3 separate regions of the Homo sapiens genome follow, and regions 1 and 2 are each linked to region 3. The links are contacts of gene promoters, found by promoter capture Hi-C in human tissues and cell types (Jung and others, 2019). All regions are on one chromosome and are shown on one strand. Each heading gives the region's core, a stretch centred on a gene start or on the middle of the fragment in contact. The rest is flanking DNA. Distances are from core to core; before and after follow the strand shown. Region 1 has its middle 170 kb from the start of SS18. Region 2 overlaps KCTD1 (potassium channel tetramerization domain containing 1). Region 3 holds the start of TAF4B (TATA-box binding protein associated factor 4b).

Evidence for each region. Contacts are between HindIII fragments. The study calls those that stand out against the background at their distance.
Region 1: a contact is called between a fragment that was not itself captured here and the fragment with the promoter of TAF4B in region 3, in 2 of the 25 tissues and cell types used here (lymphoblastoid cells and spleen).
Region 2: a fragment that was not itself captured here is called in contact with the fragment with the promoter of TAF4B in region 3 in 1 of the 25 tissues and cell types used here (dorsolateral prefrontal cortex).

What each region holds. Positions count from the first base shown.
Region 1 is chr18:25,915,589-25,920,151 of GRCh38, reverse strand. No RefSeq gene overlaps it. Among named protein-coding and RNA genes, the nearest start is that of SS18, 170 kb to the left of the region's middle. The HindIII fragment of the contact is 3,722 bases long and covers 280-4,001 here.
Region 2 is chr18:26,541,206-26,545,821 of GRCh38, reverse strand. The region is part of intron 1 of KCTD1 (potassium channel tetramerization domain containing 1); the gene reads left to right. Among named protein-coding and RNA genes, the nearest start is that of KCTD1, 5.0 kb to the left of the region's middle. The HindIII fragment of the contact is 6,485 bases long and covers 1-4,616 here.
Region 3 is chr18:26,224,639-26,229,100 of GRCh38, reverse strand. TAF4B (TATA-box binding protein associated factor 4b) reads right to left here and starts at 2,656. Exons shown (of 15, transcript NM_005640.3): 1 at 1,825-2,656. The coding sequence starts at 2,167. RefSeq lists a silencer at 2,017-2,176 and enhancers at 2,827-2,926, 2,957-3,026. The HindIII fragment of the contact is 12,633 bases long and covers 1-4,462 here.

The DNA.
Region 1 (4,563 bases), core at 891-3,390, 310 kb after region 3:
GTCGGCAAAGTAAAAATCAATGGGTTAAATATTAACTTGTTGAATTAATTAAAATTCATTTTCATATGCTAAATAAACAATGAATAACACTTTCCATACCAAACAAATAAGCATACTTATTAATCTCAAGGTTAAAGATTATGTGCCTATAAAGTATTATTTATAAAGTAGAACCTCACCAGAGAGCTTCTGGCAAATGATCTACCCAGGGCTCAATGTCATCGTGACAAAATACTGATTAAGTGTAAAGATTATAAGAAAAAACCTTCACTCCAGCCTGGGTAGTATTTATATTCTTGGTTCCTTTGAGGTATCTGAGTTTTCAGTATCTTGAGGTTTCTTCCTTATCTTTATAAATAAAATGTGAAAGACTTGTTCAGTGGTTTTTCTCAATATTTTCTTTATAGTCCTGCTGTTAAAAATCTGTAGCTAGGCCCAGTGGTGTGCACTCTCAGCTACTTGGGAAGTGGAGGCCAGAGGATTGCTTGAGCCCAGGAGTTGAAGACCAGCCTGGGCAACATAGCAAGACCCCAGCGCTTAAAAAAATTAAAAAAAAAAAAAAACAAACAAAACCTTATGATCTCTGATTTTCACTTTAATTTTAATTGAGGCTAAATTAAGGAAATTTGGGCTTATACTTTTTTTGTGGTTTACTGGTAGTCTTCTTTTTCTTAGTGATTTACCAGGGGGCTTTATATTAATATATTAATATGCTAACTTTTTGTCATTTATGCTGCAAACATTTTCTTCTATATGTTGTTTGTAAATCACCTTGCAGTGATCTTTTTTGTTTTAGAGAATTTTTGTGTTGTACAATGTACAGTCTTTGATTTGATCATTTCTGGCTTTTGTATACATTTAAAGAGGCTTCCTTCAAAACTGGAATTATAAAAATAGTTACCTATGTTTTCTTTTATTATTTTCAAGGCTTCATAATAATTTTTAAGTCTGATTTATGTGGAATTTATTTTAGTATAATAAATAAGTTAGGAATTCAAGCTTATTTATTTGGGACATAGCTACCCTATCGTTTTAGTAAAATTTAGTAAAATTGAGTTTTCCTTTCACCACTGCTTTAAAATGCCACCTTAATCGTCTACTAAATTTTTATGTCTGCTTGCCTCACACGATGGCCTGTTAGCTCAATTGGTTAGAGTGTGGTGCCAATATCTCCTTGCCTCTATTTGTGGAGTTTCTATTGGATTAACTCATCTGTTGGTCTATATACCTGTGCCACTAGCTCACTTTAAGAATGACTACAGCTTGGCCGGGCATGGTGGCTCCCGCCTGTAATCCCAGGATTTTGGGAGGCTGAGGCAGGCGGATCACCTGAGGTCAGGAGTTTGAGACCAGCCTGGCCAACAGAGCGAAACCCTGTCTCTAGAAAAAATACAAAAATTAGCTGGGTGTGGTGGCAGGCACCTCTAATCCCACCTACTCGGGAGGCTAAGGCAGGAGAATCCCTTGAACCTGGGAGTTGGAGGGTGCAGTGAGCTGAGATTGCGCCATTGCACTCCAGCCTGGGCAACAGAACGAGAATCCATCTCAGGAAAAAAAAAATGACTACAGCTCTAAGTACATTGTAATAATTGGTAGCACAAGTTCTTACACTTTCCAAGAATGTCTGGCTCTTCTTTCATTTTCGTTCTTTCAGATGGATTTTTAAAACAGTACTATCACCAGCCAGGCATTTGATTTGTTTATTATTTTTTTTTCTGTATTGATGTTTTAAGAAAATAAATTATAAACATAACATAAGCTTGCTATAACAAATTCAAACAATACAAACCAGTGGAAAATAAGCCTCGAACCACCTTCCCAAAACCCCACCCTTAACAGCACATTCCAGCCATCGCTCCTGCCAGCTGTTTGTTTAGGATTCTTTTGGACTTTCTCTTACTCTTAAGCATAAGCACACTTCATGAAGTGCCCCCAAATCCCAGTGATATTTTGACTGGGATTTCTCAATAAATATTTGTAACAAAATATTTTCATTCACATTTCTGGCTTTCAAGTCGTGTAATGCCTGAGACTTTCAGTTTCTTATATGTACACTGTTACAACACTACTTATCTACAACACAGAAATTGCATGAGACAATGCGTGATAATAAAACACGGTTCAAAAATATCTGATCATGGCATTTCTCAAAGTATGTTCTGTAATACATAGATCCTGCAATATACTCTGCAAAGAAAATAAGAGTTCCCTGGGCAAATGAGTTTGGAACATTAGGTGGTATATTTTCTTTTTTGGATATTTGTAATTCAGGGCAACATATTAGAAACCCTTAGTTCTATAAAAAAGGTTTAACTTTGTCTAACCAATGTTTTCCAAACTTGTTTGATCAGGGAAAGTATTTTGCCTATTGACACGATGCTCATAAAACACCATTTGGGAGATGCTGAGTTAGACAGATTGGATCAGCTCTTGGCTGGGGTGGGGTTGTGAAGAACCTAGAATAACTCCCAGGTCTCTGGCTTTAAGTGAATGATTGGTGATGTCACTGACTGAGGTGAAGGATAGAAGTGGAGGATCAATTTTGGACATATTGAGTTTCAATTCCTCTGGCAGGTTTGAATGGAAATGTTTAGTAAGCTGAGAATATATAGGTCTGGGACTCAGGTGACAGGTCATCACTAGAGAAACGTGGGTTAGAAAGTTTGCTTTGGATTAAAGTGTGTTGTCTAAAACAGCTCAGTTAAAAATGCACATATATTACCTAGGAAGGGTAAGCATTAAATTATTAATACATATTATATTATCATATTAGCTTACTATCATTTTAAAGCAGAGATCAGGCCCCTGAAGGAATGGAAATCAGGAATGGTGAATTTTGAGTGGAAGTCGGCCAAGAAAGAGTCTGAAGTTGTGATTTTTACCTTCTGTGGGCCCTTTTTCAATGCTAAAAAAATTTGCCAATCTCCCCACTGCCCTCACATATTAAACTTTTAATATCTTTTGACTGAGAAAATATGTCCTGACTATAACTACTATGACTTAATGTAGTTATAGTCAGGACATATTGTTCTGTACATAGAGGACATGTAAATGTATGGAATAGGTTCACATTTAGCAGGGTGTTTATCCTGCTTCCGGACAGTCAGCGTTGCTGTCCATATGGACTTCTGATCCTCCTGCCACTCCTGTGGTTCTGTTACTGAGACACCAGGGGTTCAGTCTAGGTCCTGCTGCTCACCACCCAGAAAGCCAATGACTGAGATGATCAGTATTGCCAAGGATGAAGGCTTTAATTTGGTGCTGCAGCCAAGGAGATGGGAGATCAGTCTCAAATCCTCTCCTTGACCGACTAAAAGTAGGGTTTCATACAGGAGGGAGGAAATGAAAACAAGAGCTAGGGAGGGGCAAGGAAGGATGATGATGAAGGAGGGGTCCAGCATCTCATTGTCTGGATGCCGTGATCTGGTGAGTTTCAGGTCTTTGATACTTTTTTTTGACAGGCTTGAAGGTCCTTTCCTGAGGAAAAAACAGATACAACAAATGTAAGGTTCAAGCTTTAAGACCAGCAGGGTCAATTTATATGTTTATCCAAAAAACTATCTGTGGGATTATTGGGTCCTTTTCAGTTCCAGGCTAAGGCAGATTTATAAGATGTCACTTTTAGTTCTGAGTAAACACTGCGATCTCCTGCTTACTCAGGCTCATGTCAAATTCAAACTAGAAGCTGAGGGAGAGAAAGATGATTGTACAGTTGTTAGGTCAGTCATCTGACTATGTTTCAGCCTGGGTTCATTTTAAGTAAGAGAAGATGTGGGTATGTGGGAAGAAGCAAGACTGGACTCTTGGCTTGGATTTATCCCACCACTAATGAGATGACCTCAGAGAAACCTCACTGCCTCTTTTGCCTTAACTCTCAAAATGGGATAATAGCAATAACTTTTCCTCCTTCCTGGGCCTTTGTACCGAAGTCAGTAAACTAAATAGTTGTGCAAGTGAGTAGGAAAGTTAAAAGTGCTCTAAAATGTGAGGTATTTTCATGCCTGCATTTTAATATGGCTACCACTAGGTGCCCCGAAGGTAGCAATTCCCCGGGAGGGAGTTCAATCTTCTAGGTTCACCATAGGGTGGACTCCATTTAACCTGTGTATTCTAGTTGATTAGGTTATTGTGTGTAGATTGCAGGAATTTCAAGCTCTACTCCATCTTTTTCCTTCTGATATAATTTTAACGAGATTCCCTCATTCTTTTATTGCATGGCAGGCTACTACTAGAATAAATATAAAGAAGTTTTAAAAGTGCAGAAAACAAGAGAGCTTGGGAGATGGAAAAATGCACAGGGTGAGGCAGGGGATGAGGGTGGGAAGGCTGTTCTCAGATCTGCACAGGCTCCCAATGACTTTAGAATTCCTGGGGCTCTTCTTTATGAGCCAGGCATTCTGAGAGCTAAGAGAGAAGCCTTGACCAAAGCCACTGAAAGAAATGTCTTTTTAAATTGCTTAAAGAGCACCACCTTCCTCCCAAGAAGCTTCATCACCAGGCCCAGCAATCCAGTGCTTTTTTTTTGTATTGCAGAAGTGAAGTCTGCATGTCCAGACTCTTCCT
Region 2 (4,616 bases), core at 1,192-3,691, 320 kb before region 3:
CGAGACTGGGGCCTCTAGTGTTAGATTCTTCTTTCCTTATTTTCCCCAAGGTAGTATTTTCGTGAGTATTATTAAAGTTATATTCATGTTTTGGACACTCTCTAGTCTAGGAGTCAGAAACCAGGGGTCTTTGGACACTGTGTTCTATTCTGCAGGCAGGAGTACCCACTGGAGGTTTTACAACTTTGACCTGCCTGCCATCAAGCAGAAGTAGGAATTTTGCAGGTCTGAAGGTATAGTGCAGGCCCTCCAGGAACATATGTCAGGTACCTCTGTGCTTTTTCCAAAGTGGAAATTCCAGTTCTGGACACACTGACCCTTTCAAACGTTTACCAGCTAATGGGCAAGCCTCAAGGCCAACTGAGAAAGGGGCTGCGAGTGGTAATATAAACACCAAAGTTCTCTAAAATACACAAGACCTGTAGGCTATGTGTCTTCTGTACTTCAGGTGTGTAGTCTATTTCTGACAGGTTGTGTTAGTGAATTTTAAGAATGGAGAGGAGAATTTAGGGTTTGCTTTTTCTTTGAAAGCAAAAATAAATGTTCATATTCTTCTGATACAGTAAAAACCCTTGAAATGCCCTAATTTAGAATAGCACCTGATTAATTAAGAGTTAAAAGTCTAAGAAAGTTTATTAAGGCGTGCATGGCCTTGGGATAACAATGAAACCATTTGTCTACTGGCATCTGTCTGCTGGTTTCTTGACACCAGTGTAATATAGAATTGTGACGTAAAGAACCACAAAATATAAGAGGGTTTCGTTTCATTGGTTTTGTTTTGTTCTAAGGAATGCAGTCTTTCAGTCATTATCTTTTATTTACCTGAGTAAAATAAATCAGTTCCAAAAAACTGTATACTGATGCTTTTATTATTCTTGCATTATTGTCAGGTAACTCCTAAGTTAAATATAGATTTGAGTGTCCATATATGGCTTATATGATTATTATGGCTCTCAAACAAGATCTTAGCTCCAAGTCCCTGTTAGTTAAAACACTACAAAAAGTTTTCAGTTTGCACATTTTTAGTAGTCAGCTTTTCACTTATGAAGTCTGAGCAGTCGAAGTATTGCTCAGTAGAAAGCTGAGAGCAAACTTTTTCCTTCTTTGTATATTAAAATCACTGTAAGAGTTGAGGTTCAGTGCATTTCCTGGGGCTTAATGCCTAGCTGAGGTTGCTGGCCTGTGGCATTGCTTTGGGTCATCAACTCTTCTGGCTGGTCATTAATCCGCAGGAAATGCCCTGTGCAGCTCCAGCTTCAGTCATTATTACTTAATCATAAACATAGGCTCTCTAGCCTAATACTGACTGGACTTTATCAAGTAGTGTCATACGGAATTCCACTGTTGACCATCTTAGAGACATCTCGATAACAGACAGGTCACACACTGATGTTTTGATTTTCTACTAATGTTGCAAGTTTCCCTAAAGATGAAGAGCCTGCTTCTTTAAATGCATTTACTCTTTTTACTTCTTGAGGGTGTTGTTAAGTATATTATTTATGGGACTGGTTAAAAAATGAATGCATTCAAGGATTAACAAAGATTATGGAATGTGTGATTGCTCATGTGAAGTATCTGGCTTTTGGGGGGAGTGAGGAATTATGGCGATGGTTGTGATGGTCGCTTTAACTGGTCCACTCTTTAATTCTCTTGAATGGTTGTGTTAAAAGTAAAGTGTAGTTTTAGTTCCCTTGTCCCCCAAATAGCTATTGTGATCTAAAATGATCCAGTTATTGGTACGGTTTGCAAGCTGCCAGGTGGAGGTCATGTAGTCCATTTTAAACTGCTTACCACTGTATCGTCCATCCTTATAACTATTCTCTTTGCATAAAAATAGAGCATTTTTCCTACCTCAGAGAACAGTACTTCAGTTTAGAGGGATGATAGAGATTTATAATTTTGTTCTTTATCATTCTCAGAGGAGAAAATACTAATAAAGTTTAGATTCTGAATGTCATAGTTTTGTCACTACAGTTTTTGTAGACATGTCTCTCTCCTGTGCTAAACAAAAGTGTGAAGCATTTGCAAGCTGTGACAAAGGTGTCTTTAGTTGCACTTGCTTGACCCTAACCTAGATTATTTCCAGAAATACTTTTAAGGAATTCTGTAGAGAGGACATCTATTAGTGGAAAGATTTTGGGGGCTGGTACACATCCCCTGTTTGTGTTTTATTGTCTTCAGTGTGGGCCGTTGGTCCTTATAGTTAGCAGAGTGGAAACTGCAGCAGGCTGCAAGCAGGCTGACACAGTTAGTTGTTCATTAACTTACCTTTGAGGAGAAGCCAGAGGCTGACAGCTCAGGGAATCCACTCAGGTGCTATAGGGGCAAGGAAGAAGGAATATTTAATGTATCTACTTAATAGTGAAAGGCATGCATTTTATGTATTATTGAAATAACTGCTAAGGTCCTATTTTGAATTTGAAGACTAAGAGGGAGGGATGTTCTTTATTTCTTATAGATGGAATCAAATTTTTATAAACATGAAAGGAGTATAGCGATTGTAACAAGACTTCTTGCCATGGTTATTTGGAGCTATTAAGATTAACTGCCTTTTAAAGAGTGGGTATTTTTCTGATTTTCAATATTAGTTTGTGGCTACATTCCTTTTTCTACTGCAAGAATGTTTGCTCTCCTTTATGAAAAGTTCAAGTTGGTGGAGAAACTAAATGTTTTGTACATAAGTATATAACTTTCTTCATTCAGGAAGTAGTTACTGAGCGCCTACTGTTTTGGCTTTTGTACCAGGAGTCTATAAATTAATCGTTTTCCACCTGGCAAGTAGTCTCATTGGCAAAATTTTGGCTTCTTTATCTGTTTAAACTAGATCAAAATAAAGACAGTTAAAAGGTGATGCACTCAGTGTTTTGCAGCAGTCATTTTGGGAAAGAAATCTGTACCTTTATATTCTCTTCCATGCACTCACATATTAATGTTGTAACCAGTATTCAGGAGTATTATTTTAAATTGATATAAACTCATATCTGATGTCAGTTCACTCTGTACTCAAGCTGACCCATGAAACAGAAAAAGAAATATTTGTTGCCAGGGAGAAAGTGGATCCCATTCATCCAAAACTTAAATCTTTGTATCACCCTGATTTTAAAATTTGACTCCCCAAGCAAATGTCACCAAAAGGCCACCCTCTTGTCATTACTAAGTAGTTTTCAAGCAGGAAGAAGCCTTTGTTTTCCGAGGACCACTAGTTATATGTGAGACCACTTGGATGATCATCCAGGTGGGTCCAGGCCAGTCAAAGCCCTACTTCAGTTATCCAATAAAACTTGAGTTTCAAGACACCTTTTGGTGTTTTAACTGCCATTTTGAAAGCAGAATCGATACAGGAGTTCCTGTGTAGTATGTGTCTTTGAAGTCTTAGGAACGTACATGTAAACTAGTCATCTGTAGGTCTGTCATATGTTAGAACTTTTATTTGTAGAATCGATTTTACTTATCTGTCATTCATTGCATTGTACCAATAGTCAAGTTGCCTTTTTAAAGATTTCTTTGGAGAATTTATATAAGGGATAAGGTAGTATGAATTAATTGGTTCAAAAAAAGGGGATATGGATTGACCTTGATAAACTAACATGAAAGAAAACGTAGCTTTAACATTTGAAACATTGCACAGGCACACTTCTTTAATTAACGTTTTTAGTGCTCTAAGATGCTGAATTCAGTTCATCCACTGTTAACTGAGCATCTTTCTGCTTGCTAAGTGCTGCAGAGAGGAGCAGGATTCAGTCCTTGCCCTCAAGAGGGATTCATAGAGGCTGGGCAATTAGTGGATTTATGCCCTTAAAGCTGAAATAATTCTCTGCTTGCTACATGATCATCAGAGGGGAAACAGGTGAACTCTTAAAGTTTTGGGCCCTATAAAGTTCTTTTGGATTTTCAGATTTATGAAAACTGTTCCTTTGCCTACTCTTCTCTTTCAAGAGAAGATGGGTGCTGAATGGTTTTGAGTCTTTATGACAGCATGAGCTTCTAGATGGCCCAGAAATAAATGATCTTTTCAGCTGTTCGAGATACACTACAGCAAAGGGTATGGGTTGAGATTAAACCTGAATATGAGGTTGTGTTATCTAATGCCCATGACCATAAACTGGATGACAGACCCTGCAATGCCCACACTAGCACTACAGGAAGCTGAACCTAATGAGGCATGTTCTGGGTTTTCAGTGATACTCCAAATTCCTTTCAACACTTTCTTTACAGCCAGACTTCTTACCTTTTAGCTTATAGCATATAGCAACCTGACAGAGCCTTTTCTTTCTCCCTAAAAAAGATCCACTTACATATGACAGCAAACTTTCATTCATGACAGACAGGGTTTTTTTATTTGGCAGGGGTGGATATCATAAATTTTGCCCAAGCTTTGGGTAACAGAATTTTCAAAAATAACAGAGGTGGGAGCTATCTTACAGTATCGTAAGTGAAAAGTGTCTGCGTTTTCTTTGGAGTTTTTAATCATATGTGCTTTTAGGCAACTCCTGCATGTACGTAGTGTGCTTTGGGCTAGCTTTTAACATTTTCACCCCCAATGAGAATTTCCTTTCTCTGAAGACCCTCTCCATCCTGAGGTGTGTGATTCAGCTCCTCTTTCTCCAGGCAGGGAC
Region 3 (4,462 bases), core at 1,407-3,906:
TGAATCACCTTTCAGTACTGACACTCAATGAGGCATACCGTACACATACAAGTAAAAAAATAAGCATAGCGTTGTGGAAAGAATAAACAGACCTGAGCTAAAACTCCCCCGACACCTATGGGTTGCCTGGCATTGGACAAATTATTTACTCTTAGAGACCTCTTTCCTTATTTGCTACCTACCTATTATGACCAACAAATAAAAGAATATAAATAATTTGTTAAAAGTGCTTAGCATGATAAGGCCCCAATCCTCCAGTAAGTGATTCACTCTCACTTACCAGCAAATTTTCACTCTTGACAGTTCTTTCTTTGGGGGGTTGGGGAGGGATGGGGAGGAACAGAGTCTCACTCTGTTGCCTGGGCTGGAGTGCAGTGGCAAGATATCTTGGCTTACTGCAACCTCCACCTCCCGGGTTCAAGCGATTCTCGTGCCTTAGCCTCTCAGACAGTTCTTTCTTAATACTTTTTTTTTTTGACTATTTATAAACAAACTTCAGTGACTAGACAGGATTTACAGTTTAACAAATTAGGGGGTAATTTCATTCTAACACATTCAGAACTACTTTATAAACATATATGCAGAATAACAACTCAGAATAACAATTTAGAACTGCCAAATAATGTATTCGGTGCTGCACACTGCCGTAACAGTGCCTTAACAATTTTACATACCTTGTATACCATATAAAACTGAAACAGAACTTCATAAAAAGTGAAATCTATCCACAACGTGTATGACTAACTACAACATTAGATACAAAAAGGGTCCCTGTCATTTTATTAGGGGATATAGAATCTTTTGAATCAATGCTTCCCCTTTTTTACCATCTTTGCAGTTCAGAGTTCCAATTACTGCTAAACAAAATTAACAGAAAGCAAACTCCAAGAGACTTTCAGTAAAGAAAGGCTGAACACCCCAAAATCATTCAGCATATTTACAATATGTAAATTATCACAAAGCAAAACCTTTATACAAACCATGAAATACAGCCCAATAGAGTAAAAAGCCCTAGGATAGAAAGTAGTGAAAGACTCATTAACAGTAGCGTTGACACATGGCTTCAATTGCAACTGTAACAATTGCATGACTGATCTGTTTGTCAACTGTGGCACGTGTTCCCAGTCAGGGGTTCTGCTAATTGAAAGTTAGAATCATAAGACATTTAAAGATTGTGCAGGAACAGCATTATTCGTACTTGGTACTAGAAAGCAGTAAACCGATTCTGACTTGGTTAAATTTAAAAATCTCTTTCAGTTGTAATACACAAGAACTTCACTGTTAGGCCGTACGCGGTGGCTCACGCCTGTAATCCCAGCACTTTGGGAGGCCGAGGCGGGAGGATCGATTGGGCCCAGGAGTTCGACGTCGGTGAGCCATGATCGTGTCACTGCACTCCAGACTGGGCGACAGAGCGAAACCATACCTCATTCGTTCATTCATTCATTCATAATTAATAAAATAAGTACAACGCACTTCTACATAATCTAAGCGTATGGAAATCCACGGTATAAACCGGTCCATCCTCCACATGGAAATTAACTTCGGCTATATTATCTCCTCCACCTAAGAGCCAGTGCCTGAAAGCCCCCCCGAATACGCTGATGTAGCTTTTTACTGTATCACTTAGGTGAAAAGATTCTTTCCTTAAATATGAAAAGAAAAACTATGTAGTAATGACACAAAAAGAATATGTTAACTGTAAAGTCAAGATTATGAAATGTTCCCGTGGCTCAGTTTTTTTAGGAGCAATCTGGAGCTGCGAATTTTCCCGTCGCCGCCAGCTGGACCGACAGACAAGGCTGGAAAGGGTTATCAACATACCTGGAGGAAGCTGCAAATTAGCAGGAAACTGGATTGTCGTGGTGTTGGGGGCTTTCACGGCGACTATCTGAGGAGCAGGCAGCCTAGGGCCGCTGCTGACTTTAGGAGGGGCGCTGACCGGAGCCACTTTGGTCACCAGGGTCCCCACGGGGGACCGCAGGGGCTGGGACGCCGTGGGCTCCACGCAGACGCTGACAGGAGCCTTAGTCACGGCGCCCAGGGCCACCGGAGTGCTCTCCACCCGCACCGGCAGCGCCCCGGCCGGGGCCATGGTCACGGTCCCCGAGGCGCTCACAGCAGCCGGGGGAGCGGCGCCGGCGGGTTCGGTGAGGCCGGCGGGCATCCCCCAGGGGCTCAGCGGCAGCTTTGGCGCTGCGGTTCCGGGAGCAGAGGTGAGGGGAGGCTTGGCGCGCGGCAGCCGACTCCGGTGCGGTTCGGGTTCCACAGCATCGCTGGGGAGAGGCGCGGGGGCCGCAGCAGCGAAGTCAGTGACGGGCGCCCGCTGCACGGCAGGACACGCGCGTCCCGGACCTTCCTCTCGTCCGCGCGAGCCTGGGCTGCCCCCGGAGCGACACCCGCCCGACCTCTCGCAGCTTCCTCAGCGGCGCTCACACGTGCGCTGCCTCAGCCCTGCGCCTCAGGCTCGGGTCCCGCTGCGGGGGAGCCTGGACTTGCGGCTCCCGGAAGGTCGTCGCTCACACCTCGAGCCTAACTGCGCAGCTGCTCCCCCGCCAGAAATTTCAAAACTACGAACCCCGAGTGCCCACAGCCCCCTACGCGCGATTGGCACGGCCCCGCCGCGCGGCCACGCCAGCCATGTTTATATAGCCACGCGGAGACCTCGCGCACGCGCCCAGGCCGCCGCCACCGCCCCGGGTTTCCCCGGGATCCGGCCGCGTGATTGGCCAAGGAGCGGAGCCGCGCCCGTGACGTCACTGGGGACGGCTCCAGGGAGCGTTAAAATCTTCCCCAGAATCGCCAGCAAGGAGGGGCGATGCCAGAAACCTATCACGTGGGAGGGGCAAGCTGCACTTGGAAAACTGCGGCATCCGTGTTCCTCTCCTTGTGTCCCCTGTAGTGTGTTCCTCGAAAAGCCAGCACTAGACTATCTCCAGGATTCTATTTTTTAAGGAGAAAATGGGGAGGACTGATTTCCGAGAAGAGTGACTCAATAAGAATTCAATCACGCATTTTCAGTGTTTTTCTCTGCTGTCTTCACACTGAAGCGTTGCTAAAATTCGCAGTTAGAATTGACATTGTAAAAATTAAAATGGCGTATAGTTTTATAGTCTGTGAGATGTGCCTATTTTCATATTTTAGAGTTAAACTGCCTAAAATCTTAAATGGAAAATCGTTTCTTCTTTGGTGCTGCTATAGGTGTCTCTATCACCTCTAAACATTAAAATTGTATGTCTGTCTTCTGAAAAACTTAATGCCTTTTGATATCTATATAATTAGATTCTAGCACTTAGATATTAAGCGTGATCCTAGATATTATCTGGATAAATAAAAGGTGTTGAGTGAATCGATATGAAAAAACTTGCCTGTTTGTAATGCAGTCAGAGAAGATGCCTTAATTTCAAGCTAAAGTCATTATATTGTATGTTTGTAGGAACCAACACTGCACTGAAAGGCGATTTTACAAGTAGGCAGATGCTATGATCTGAATGTTGTGGTGTTTTGTTTTGTTTTGTTTTGTTTTGTTTTGTTTTGGAAACAGGATCTAACTCTGTCACCCAGGCTGGAGTGCAGTGGCACCATTGGCTCATTGCAGCCTCCACCTCCTGGGCTCAAGTGATCATCCTACCCTCCTACCTCAGATTCCCGAGTAGCTGGAACCACAGGGGAGCGGCACTATGCCTAGCAAAAACGGGATCTCGTTATATTGTCCAGGCTGGTCTCCAATTCCTGAGCTCCCGCCTGGGCCTCCCAAAGTGCTAGGATTATACCCCCAACTGAGTGTTAAAATGCTAAAGCTGGAGTTGATAATATTAGAAGGTTGGGCCTTTGAAAGGTGATTAGATCATAAGGGTGGAGCCCTCATGAATGGGATTCCATTCAGGACAAATCATGTTAAAGTGATGAATATGTTAACTTGATTTAATTATTTCACGACACATACAAATGTAACATGATACCTCATAAATACATACAATTATTATTTGTTAGTTAAATACATTAAATAAATAATTTTTTTAAAAAAAGAAACCTCAGAAAGATCCCTCACCCCTTCCAGCAAGTGAGGTTATGGTAAAAAGACTGCTGTCTAGAAAGTAGACTCTCATCAGATACCACATCTGCCTTGATCTTGAACTTCCCAACCTCTGGAATTATGGGACATGAATTTCTCTTTTTATAAGCTACCCAGTTTATGATATTTCATTATAGAAGCCCGAGTGGACTAAAATAGCAGGCAACCTGATGGTTACAGCTCCTGCTTTTCCCCCTCTCTGTAAACGTGTGCCGGCACGTTTAGATAAGATCTACTCACAAGATCTAGTAAAGTCCACACACTTACTACCTTTACTGTCTCTCACTTCTTGACCAGTCTAAATCCATCTCATGACCTAAACCAATCACCCTCCCTTTCTATGGTGAATTCCCTGATCACTTACCTTCTAGCAAATGCCTCAAAGTG